Regions from separate parts of the Homo sapiens genome. Here region 2 is linked to region 1. The links are contacts of gene promoters, found by promoter capture Hi-C in blood cells and fetal thymus (Javierre and others, 2016). All regions are on one chromosome and are shown on one strand. The core of a region is centred on a gene start or on the middle of the fragment in contact, and the rest is flanking DNA. Distances in the headings are between cores, read along the strand shown.

Evidence for each region. Contacts are between HindIII fragments. The CHiCAGO score rates a contact against its expected background, and 5 or more counts as called.
Region 2: a contact is called between the fragment with the promoter of GAB1 here and the fragment with the promoter of MGST2 in region 1, in 1 of 17 cell types (monocytes). The highest score is 7.2, in monocytes.

Annotation. Positions count from the first base shown.
Region 1 is chr4:139,663,261-139,667,544 of GRCh38, forward strand. MGST2 (microsomal glutathione S-transferase 2) reads left to right here and starts at 2,559. Exons shown (of 5, transcript NM_002413.5): 1 at 2,559-2,817. The coding sequence starts at 2,760. RefSeq lists enhancers at 2,118-3,317, 2,614-2,783. The HindIII fragment of the contact is 3,780 bases long and covers 1,209-4,284 here.
Region 2 is chr4:143,334,161-143,338,998 of GRCh38, forward strand. It overlaps GAB1 (GRB2 associated binding protein 1), which reads left to right and starts at 2,716. Exons shown (of 10, transcript NM_002039.4): 1 at 2,716-3,100. The coding sequence starts at 3,029. It also overlaps the pseudogene LOC124900789. RefSeq lists enhancers at 1,523-1,732, 2,642-3,455 and silencers at 1,925-2,092, 2,033-2,332, 2,433-2,492, 2,563-2,612. The HindIII fragment of the contact is 8,165 bases long and covers 1-4,838 here.

The DNA.
Region 1 (4,284 bases), core at 1,309-3,808:
TTTAGTAGAGACGGGGTTTCACCGTGTTAGCCAGGATGGTCTGGAACTCCCAACCTCGGGTGATTCGCCCACCTCGGCCTCCCAAAGTGTGGGATTACAGGCGTGAGCCACCACGCCCGGCCGGAAGTTGTAGATTTTAAACCAGTTGACTAGTACAGGTGTACCCAAGAGTTTCTCAAAATAAGAGTTACCAACACCCAAAAGTTACAGTCATCAGCCAGGGCCACAATTCTCTGCTCAGCTCCTCCTGCTGTTGTTCCTCTCTTCCCGAGCCGTTCTCTGACTTTGAGAGCCTCTGCCTGTCCCCAGGCCTAATGTAGACCTCTCCTTCGAGATCTGTCATTTGGGAGGTTATTATAGTAGATGGTGATATGGGTTCAGGGCAGCTAGTTTGCAGTTTAGAATCTCTGCCATGTACTGAAGCCCAAAACTATTAAACTGAGTATACAAGAATGTTTTGGTGCTGCCCCAGCTTCTTGGCTCTACTTTCTTATCTAATCTTAGTTGTCAATGATTTCAAGAGCAAACAGCCAAGGAAGCCTGAAGACCAACAGAAACTTTGAGCAGACCTGGCTTGCAACTATTTATAAATTAATTTTGTTATTCCTTCTTTCCTGTATATGTGTAGTTCCATGAATTCTACTTTGAACTGGTTATAACATCTTACTGGTTCCCTCATGAATGAGTTACATAAAAATTTTGATATGTTTTCATTTTATGTTGTATGAAAGGCATGATTTTTGCCTCTGAAAGTATTTTTTAACATTAGGTACATTATATGCTAAGTACTTGTCTAGATACTTTATGTGTTTATTTTGCAGACACACAGAACACATTTGTATATGCCAGGTGCTGTTTTAAGTGCTCTATAAGTATTAACTAATTCAATCCTTAGAATAGGATTATGTCATTTAAACTTCTCTTCAGCTCTTATTAGCCCTATCTTATTAAATGGAGGCTCAGAGAGGCCCAAGGTTGTGTTATTAAATTGTAGGGTCTGTGTGAGGCTGAGGCAACTGCCCTCCCCAGAAGACACTGGGAGCTCCCTGCTAGGGACTAAATGTTTGTGTCCCCTCTGCAATTCATATGTTGAGACCCTAACCCCCAACGTGATGTTATCAGGCATTTGGCAGATAATTAGCTACAGGTGAGGTTATGAGCATAGGCCCCCATAATGGGATCTGTGCCCTTATAAGAAGTGACCAGGAAGCTTACTCTTTCTCTGTCTCCAACATGAAGGTGTCCTTCTGCAAACCAGGAAGAGGGCCCTCACCAGGAACTGATTGGCCAGCACTGTCATCTTGGACTTCCCAGCCTTCAGGACTGTGACGAATAAATTGCTATTGTAAGCCACCCAGTCTATGGTATCTTTGTTATAGCAGCTTGAGCCAAGATATACCCTCTAATGGTGCTGTAGGATGGGGTGAGGAAAGGCCCCCAGCTCTGGTTTTTGGGAAGCTGCATCTTTATTTTTATTATTTGTTTGAGACAGGGTCTCACTTTGTCACCCAGGCTGAAGTGCAGTGGAACGACCTTGGCTCACTGCAGTCTCAGGCTCCTGGGTTCAAGCAATCCCCTTGCCTCAGCCCCCTAAGTAGCTGGGACTACAGGCACGTGCCACCATGCCCTGCTAATTTTTGTATTTCTTTAAGAGATGGGGTTTTGCCATGTTACCCAGGCTGGTCTCGAACTCCTGAGCTCAAACCATCTGCCCATTTCAGCCTCCCAAACTGTTGGGATTACAGGCATGAGCCATCCTTCCAGGCCAGAATCTGCATCTCTAAAGAGCAGATTCTCCTGCCTCAGCCTCCTGCGTAGCTGGGACTACAGGTTCGTGCCACCATGCCCAGCTGATTTTTTGTATTTTTAGTAGAGAAGGGGTTTTACTGTGTTAGCCAGGATAGTCTTGATCTCCTGACCTCGTGATTCACCCTCCTTGGCCTCTTAAAGTGCTGGGATTACAAGTGTGAGCCATCGCGCCCGGCCGGTTTATTTTTTTAAAAATGGCTGGGCACAGTGACTTGTGGCTGTAGTTCTAGCTACTTGGGAGGCTGAGGCAGGAGGATTACTTAAGCCCAAGAGTTGGAGGCTGCAGTGAGCTATGATCGTGCCACCACACACTCCAGCCTGGGTGACAGATCAAGACCCTGTCTTAAAAAAAAAAAGTATGATTATTATCAGAGTCTCTAGGTGACAGTGAGAGGCAGCCTGGTGCAGGGGATAGGGCACAGTTGTAATCTGCTAGACTGGGTTCAAATCCTAAATCGGCCATTCAGAGCGTGAATACATTAGAACTGGCTTAAATTAGCATTTAAAATGTCAACAGGATTAAGTAAGTAGTTCCTTCTCACTTTTTCCACAGGAGGTGAGAAAGGTCTCAGCAAGGCCCTAGGAGGGAAGGGCGTGGGGATGAAAGGGATCCAGAGAGTCTGTGCATTGGCAGAGAAGATAGTGTAACTGGCACTGCGGCTGGAGGGCTGGTCCCACAGTGAGCTACAGCCCTGCCCGCTGGCCGTGGGAGAGGCTTAAAACAAACGCCGGAAGCAACTCCCAGCCCCATAAAGATCTGTGACCGGCAGCCCCAGACCTGCCTGCCTTCCTGACTTCTGTTCCAGAGCAAAGGTCATTCAGCCGCTTGAATCAGCCTTTTCCCCCCACCCGGTCCCCAACTTTGTTTACCCGATAAGGAAGGTCAGCATTCAAAGTCAAGAAGCGCCATTTATCTTCCCGTGCGCTCTACAAATAGTTCCGTGAGAAAGATGGCCGGGAACTCGATCCTGCTGGCTGCTGTCTCTATTCTCTCGGCCTGTCAGCAAAGTAAGAGGCATGGGAAGTTCGTGTGTGTGCGCGTGTGTGCGTGTGTGTGTGTGTGTGACAAGGCTTGCGGGAGAGAGAGGGAGGGAGGGAGATGGGTCCGGTGTTTTGTTTCCTACTTGCCCTTGCAGGTAGCTCTGGGTCCTCAGAGCACAGTCGCCTCAGGGTCACCCATGCCGCCTGCTACCCTCCTTCCCAGGGGCAAGCAGAGACTGAGAACATTCCAGAGATTAGTTCTCCCAACTGGAACGCTGTGGGGCCTCAGAGCTCAGCGATTCTGCATCATCTGTGATTACGACCCACAGCCCGTTCAAACGAGCGTTAGTAGCCTGCTAACCTGCAGGAAGTGGTGTGAATATTAATTACAAGTGTTCCAAAGGAAACGTGCCTGCTTCTAAACCTGGTTGTGATTTCTTGAACGTTGATGTTTTAATTAATGTGTTTTCTTAAATAAACTGCCTATGGTGGTATGATTATCAGATTGAAAAAAACTTCCTTCAGAAATATTAGCTTTAGATTAAGTAATTAGCTCTAAATTTTAAAACAGCTTCCCACTAGGATTATTCAATATCTCGACTGCCTGGTTAAATAGAGGGCTTTTACTCCATGGGAGTCACATTTGCTCAATTCATATTATCTTACCTACAATGTCAGCTGGGGAAAGGGGTCCGAGTGCAAGAGTGCAAGACTTCTTACCAAGCATGCATATTTCTTTATATTTCCAAGTATGCCTGTACCAGGAAATAGGGCCAAGCCGTAGACTGCTCAGGTTACACAAACAGCCAGAAGCAGGAAGGCCTCACAGCTGAGGATCCAGTCCAGGCCTCCGTGCATGCTCAATGTCTTGCCTAGCCAGTCTGTTTTGAGATTGTATGAAGATCTTGAACCTTCAGACTCACGTTTTGTGGTTTGATTCACACAATCTGTTGTGGAGAAGAGCAGGATATTTGTTTCTAATTAAAGAAGCACTTAGATCTGTTAAAAGGAAAACCCTAGACAAATTACATTTAACTGAGTTTAATTGAGCAAAGAACGATTCACAGTTGGGCATGGGGAACCGGAATAGGTTCAGAGAGACTCTGGGGCTGCCACGTGGTAGAAGAAGATTTATGGACAGAAAAAGGAAAGCGACTCCCAGAAAACGGAAGCATATAGTTCACGATGTACGGAGAAACCTTTAGGCTGAACTTAAAATATGTCAGAAGGCAGCTTTAGGCTAAACCTAATTTAGCAGGTCTAAGGCTCACTGTTGGTAGCATCCTGACTCACAGGTGCTACCAAACCTGCATGCGCCTTTATCCTAGGCCTGCAGGTCCACAGATGTCCCAAAGCTGACAGAGGTGCTCATCCTCCCTGTTTGCTGCTTGTGCAGGGGGCTGTGTGAACTGGGGCCAGAATGTTAGGGGGCTGGATGGAGTGGGGGTAGGGGTGGGGAGAGAGGAGAGGAGACTGGGTGAATGATGATTAATG
Region 2 (4,838 bases), core at 1,466-3,965, 3.7 Mb after region 1:
CCCACAGTGCTGGGAATACAAGCGCGAGCCATCGCGCCCGACTAACCGACCAACACTACCATTTCTTTTCTTTTCTTTTCTTTTCTTTTCTTTTCTTTTCTTTTCTTTTCTTTTTTTTTTTTTAGAGACACAATCTCGCTTTGTCGCCCAAGCTGAAGTGCAGTAGCGCGATCTCGGCTCGCTGCAACCTCCGCCTCCCGGGTCAAGCGATTCTCCTGCCTCAGCCTCCCGAGTAGCTGGGACTACAGGCGCACGCCGCCACGGCTAATTTTTTGTATTTTAGTAGAGACGGGTTTTCACTGAGTTGCCCAGTCTGGTCTCAAACTCCTGAGCTCAGGCAATCCACCCACCTAGGCCTCCCAAAGTGCTAGGATTACAGGCGTGAGCCACCGCACCTGGCCAACACTACCATTTCTATTTCTCATTAAACTTCTGCAAAATCGGTGTTGCAATTCCCATTTCACATATCGGGAAACTGAGACTCAGAGACATTGTGTAATTTACCCAAGGTCACGACTACTCAGTTGATGACCTGAAAAGTGCATCCAGATCTGCAAGAAGTTCCGCCCTTGTGATACTGTTAAGTGCCTGCCAAAAGATGACGGTCTCTAAACCCCAGTGGGAACCAGGCTTTTTCAGATTTTTCTTTTTTGAGACTGAGTCTCAATCTGTAGTTTTGTTGACTCTTTATTTGCTTACTACCCTATGCCACTACCTCCATATATGCAGGGATCTTTGTCTTGTCACCACTCCAGCACCTAATTTCTTATTACAATCATCTAACATTTTCAAACTCAGAGGAGCTTCAGAATATGAATGTTGTGTTAATAAGAAAATGACTGAAGTTATGTCTTTCCAGAAATGCTCATTTATGTCGTCATATTTTTAGCACTTTTATCTGATTATATTATCTGCTGAAATTGGCTTTGGGGCTTTTTCACAAATAAATTGGAGAAGATGTTTATTACAGAATCATGTTAAACTCAGGACCAGTATAATAATTGTGAAACACACAAGGAAGTAGGCAAATAGAACTAGGGTACCCAGTAAATTTCCTTCCTTCCTTCTTTCTCTCTCTCTCTCTTTTTTTTTTTTTTTTTTTTTGACGGAGTTTTGCTCTTGTTGCCCAGGCTGGAGCGCAGTGTCGCGATCTCGGCTCACCGCAATCTCCGCCTCCCGGGTTCAAGCTATTTTCCTGTCTCAGCCTCCCGAGTAGCTGGGATTATAGGCGCGCGCCACTACGCCCGGCTAATTTTTGTATTTTTAGTAGAGATTGGGTTTCTCCATGTTGGTCAGGCTGGTCTTGAACTCCCGACCTCAGTTGATCCGCCCGCCTCGGCCTCCCAAAGTGCTGGGATTACAGGCGTGAGCCACCGCGCCCGGCCAAGTGTCCCTCTTCTAGTCCAGCATCCGAACAGTAGATTTCAAACAAATACAAAGTTAAGTGGAATAGGCAACAAATGGAAGGGGTGTGAGACTTCAAAATGTCTCAGAGATAGGACCCAACCAAATCCTTGGCCTCGCCAAGCGCCCCCATCACTCTGGCAGAACAGCTCCAGAGACCAGCCCTGGCCAGCCCTGGGTCCCCATCTGTCCTCCCCTCCAAGCTGGTAGCTCCCGCGCCCTCTTGGTCTGTCCTTTAATCTCGCGCGGCGGGGACCGGCAGGATGGTGGTCTCCCCGCGGTTTTGCCTTTCAGGCTCTCAAGTAAAGAAAACCCTCGAAACTCCTGATCTCGAGCACAGCACAAGCTCCGAGCTGGCACCGGGCTGAGTCAAGATGGCAAGCCCCGGACTGAACATTCGAATGTCCCTCAGTCTTCCCCGCGCCCAAGCCCCGGTGCCTCTGCCCTAGCCGAGGCCTCTGCGGTCTTCCCGGGCGAGGAGCCGATTGGGGGCCGCCGGACGGCGGAGGACCCTGCTCCTGCTTCCCGAACTACAGATCCCAGGGTGCCTCTCGGACTCGCGCTCCCTCCCTCCCTTGCTCCCTCCCTTCGTCCGTCTCCTCCCCCGGCCCTTGTTGTTTTGGCTGGAAGCACTCCGGCGGAGTTTCAGAGAAAGTCTGGGCAGAAACCGGAGCCGGGCCTGAACGTGGGAAGGGGAGGAGGAGAGGGAGGAAGAAGGAGCCCGGCGGCCGGGAGAGGGAGGGAGGGATCGGGATCTGGGGCCGAGCCGCTCAGGACCTGCCGCGAGCCCCGGGGTGGGGGAGGCGGCGGGGGAGGAGCGCGAGGGGACGGGACAGCGGGATCCCTCCCAGGAGCCAAGCCGCCAAGCGCCTCGTTCCTCTGCTGCTCCCCGCCCTCTTCGGCGGCCGCGAGAGCGGACCCACCCTCCGGCTTGACCTGCGACCTCCCTGCGCCCGCCGCTCAGAAACGCCCCGCGCTTCGCTGCCAACCCTGCGGCTCCCTCTGTGACCCGGGACCAGCCCCGCGCCCGCTGCCCGTAGGCGGCTCGCGGCTTCCCCTTTCCTCGGCGTTCACCGAGCGCCGCGAAGTGACCCACCCTCCCCCGAGGAGAGGGAAGGAGGATCGCTCCGGGCGCATCGAAACCGAGGGCGGGTGGGCGGGCGAGCGGGCACCGCGCGGGGCATTGTGTGTGTGTGTGTGTGTGTGTGTGTGTGTGAGCAGCGCTGTGTCTGTTTCGGAAAGCGCTCTGGGGAGGTCTTGTCCCTAGGGGGCGGAGCGCAAAGGACAGAAGCTCCGGCACCGAGTCGGGGCAGAGTCCCGCTGAGTCCGAGCGCTGCTGAGGCAGCTGGCGAGACGGCACGTCTGGAGGCGAGGCGGGCGCACTGAAAGGAGGCCGGCGCGCCCGCGGCCCCGGCTCGCGTTCTGTTCAGGTTCGTGGGCCTGCAGAGGAGAGACTCGAACTCGTGGAACCCGCGCACCGTGGAGTCTGTCCGCCCAGTCCGTCCGGGGTGCGCGACCAGGAGAGCTAGGTTCTCGCCACTGCGCGCTCGGCAGGCGTCGGCTGTGTCGGGAGCGCGCCCGCCGCCCCTCAGCTGCCCGGCCCGGAGCCCGAGACGCGCGCACCATGAGCGGTGGTGAAGTGGTCTGCTCCGGATGGCTCCGCAAGTCCCCCCCGGAGAAAAAGTTGAAGCGTTATGTAAGTAGAGCTGCGGGCACCACTCCGCGGGCCTCGGCGTCCACACCCCTCCCCAGTCGGCTCGCCGGCGGCTGCAGCTGGCCGCGCGCGGGGCTGGTTCTTAAACGAATGCCGGTCTCTTTCCCCTTGGCCCCTACCCCTGGCGGGCTCGGGACAGGGTGCCTTGCACTCCCTCACGCCCAGGCATCCACTTGGCCGGACAACTTTCTTCCTCCAGGTTCCAGACAGCCTGCTTTGCGGGCCTGTTCGCCCCATAAAAGGACCTAGACGTCCAGCTAAACTCCTGCTGCATGCTTTTTTTCTTCCTTAGGAAGGATGGGGTGCGATGGAGAGAGGAGCCTTCTTCCTGCTTTATTCCTGCATCTGATTATTGGGCTGATGTGTGCTAAAGCTCCCGCACCGGGAAAACTGCCGAGGTTTTAGGGCTCACTAGCCCTTTCTTTGGTGGGCGCTCCCTCTCCTCCGCCCCTCGAGATGGGTTGCGGGAAGCGGGCTGTGGAGCTGAGGAGTTGGTAGTAGAGACAAGCATATCGAACGCGCGCAAAAGGGAAAGAAAGAAAAGTTATTACGCGCCCTGCCGTTTGCTTAGCAGGGTTCACATTTTCGCGGTTTTGAATTGAGGGACTTTGGAGTTTGGCCCGGGAGCCTTGGCGGTTTGCTGCGAGAGGAGGGCGCTGGGGGGGAGCCTAGTGGCTGGTGTTTGGGCGCCTTGGATGTGCTGTCAAACTCGGCAGGAGGGGACAGCTGAAGCCAGAAGGGATTTCAGTTGCGGTCCTTTCCCAGGGAACCAGAGTGGCTTTAATGGTGTTTGTGTAATTGATACAAGATGCTATGTGTTAAACCGTTTTAGCTGTTAGGAAAAATATTCCTTGAAAGTATCAACCTTGCTTTAGTGGAAACCTGTGTCCTCTTCAGAGGTCTGGGATCTTATTCTTCCTCCCCATTGGTTGTTTTGTTGCTGCTCCCTTGCAAAGGAAAGAAATGACACTTTTGTGCTGACATCTGGATCAAATATTTTTCTAGTAAAATGTGTTTGCAAAAGCAAAATTTATGCCCCCTTAAATATAATATAAATTTAATGCCTGTACGAAGGGAACCCGTTTGTCGTTGAGGAATATCTACACCCAGTATTAGAGCTCAGGTTAATCCTGTTAGTCACTGTTTGCTTGTATAGAACAGAGTGAAGTACACAGAGTGAAGTATTTAACTTCACTGACAACTCACCAGTGAATTTCTGATTTACTTTCTGCCAGAATTTATTATAGACAAGTAATTTTATTGAAAGACTCGATGCCACAAATCATAAGAAAGCTCTCCAGAGATGTGTAATGCCTCCAAATCCTGTCCATCTATCAGTTTTCCTGAATATCCTAGTAAAAATGCTAACTTTATTCCAAAAATATGAACGAGGCAGTGTTTTTTTTTCCAGCTGTTCTAAAGAGAAAGGTAGGGGTGTGTGTGTGTGTGTGTATGTGACAGAGAAGGAAGGGAGAAAGGGGTAGGGAGATAAATATATTTGTTTTGAGAAGGCCCAATTTAGGAAAAACAGATTCTTGGAGGAATTAAAGAATAACATATTTGCTGAACGTGAAAGTGATAATATAGGTTTAATTCATTCTTTCACATGGTTAGTTCATGGCTCACTCAAAAGACGCCAGGCACTGTATTAGACACCAACCATAAGGTCACAAAATACAGTAGGAAAAAGGAAAAAAGCCCTGCCTCTTGGGCTTAGAAT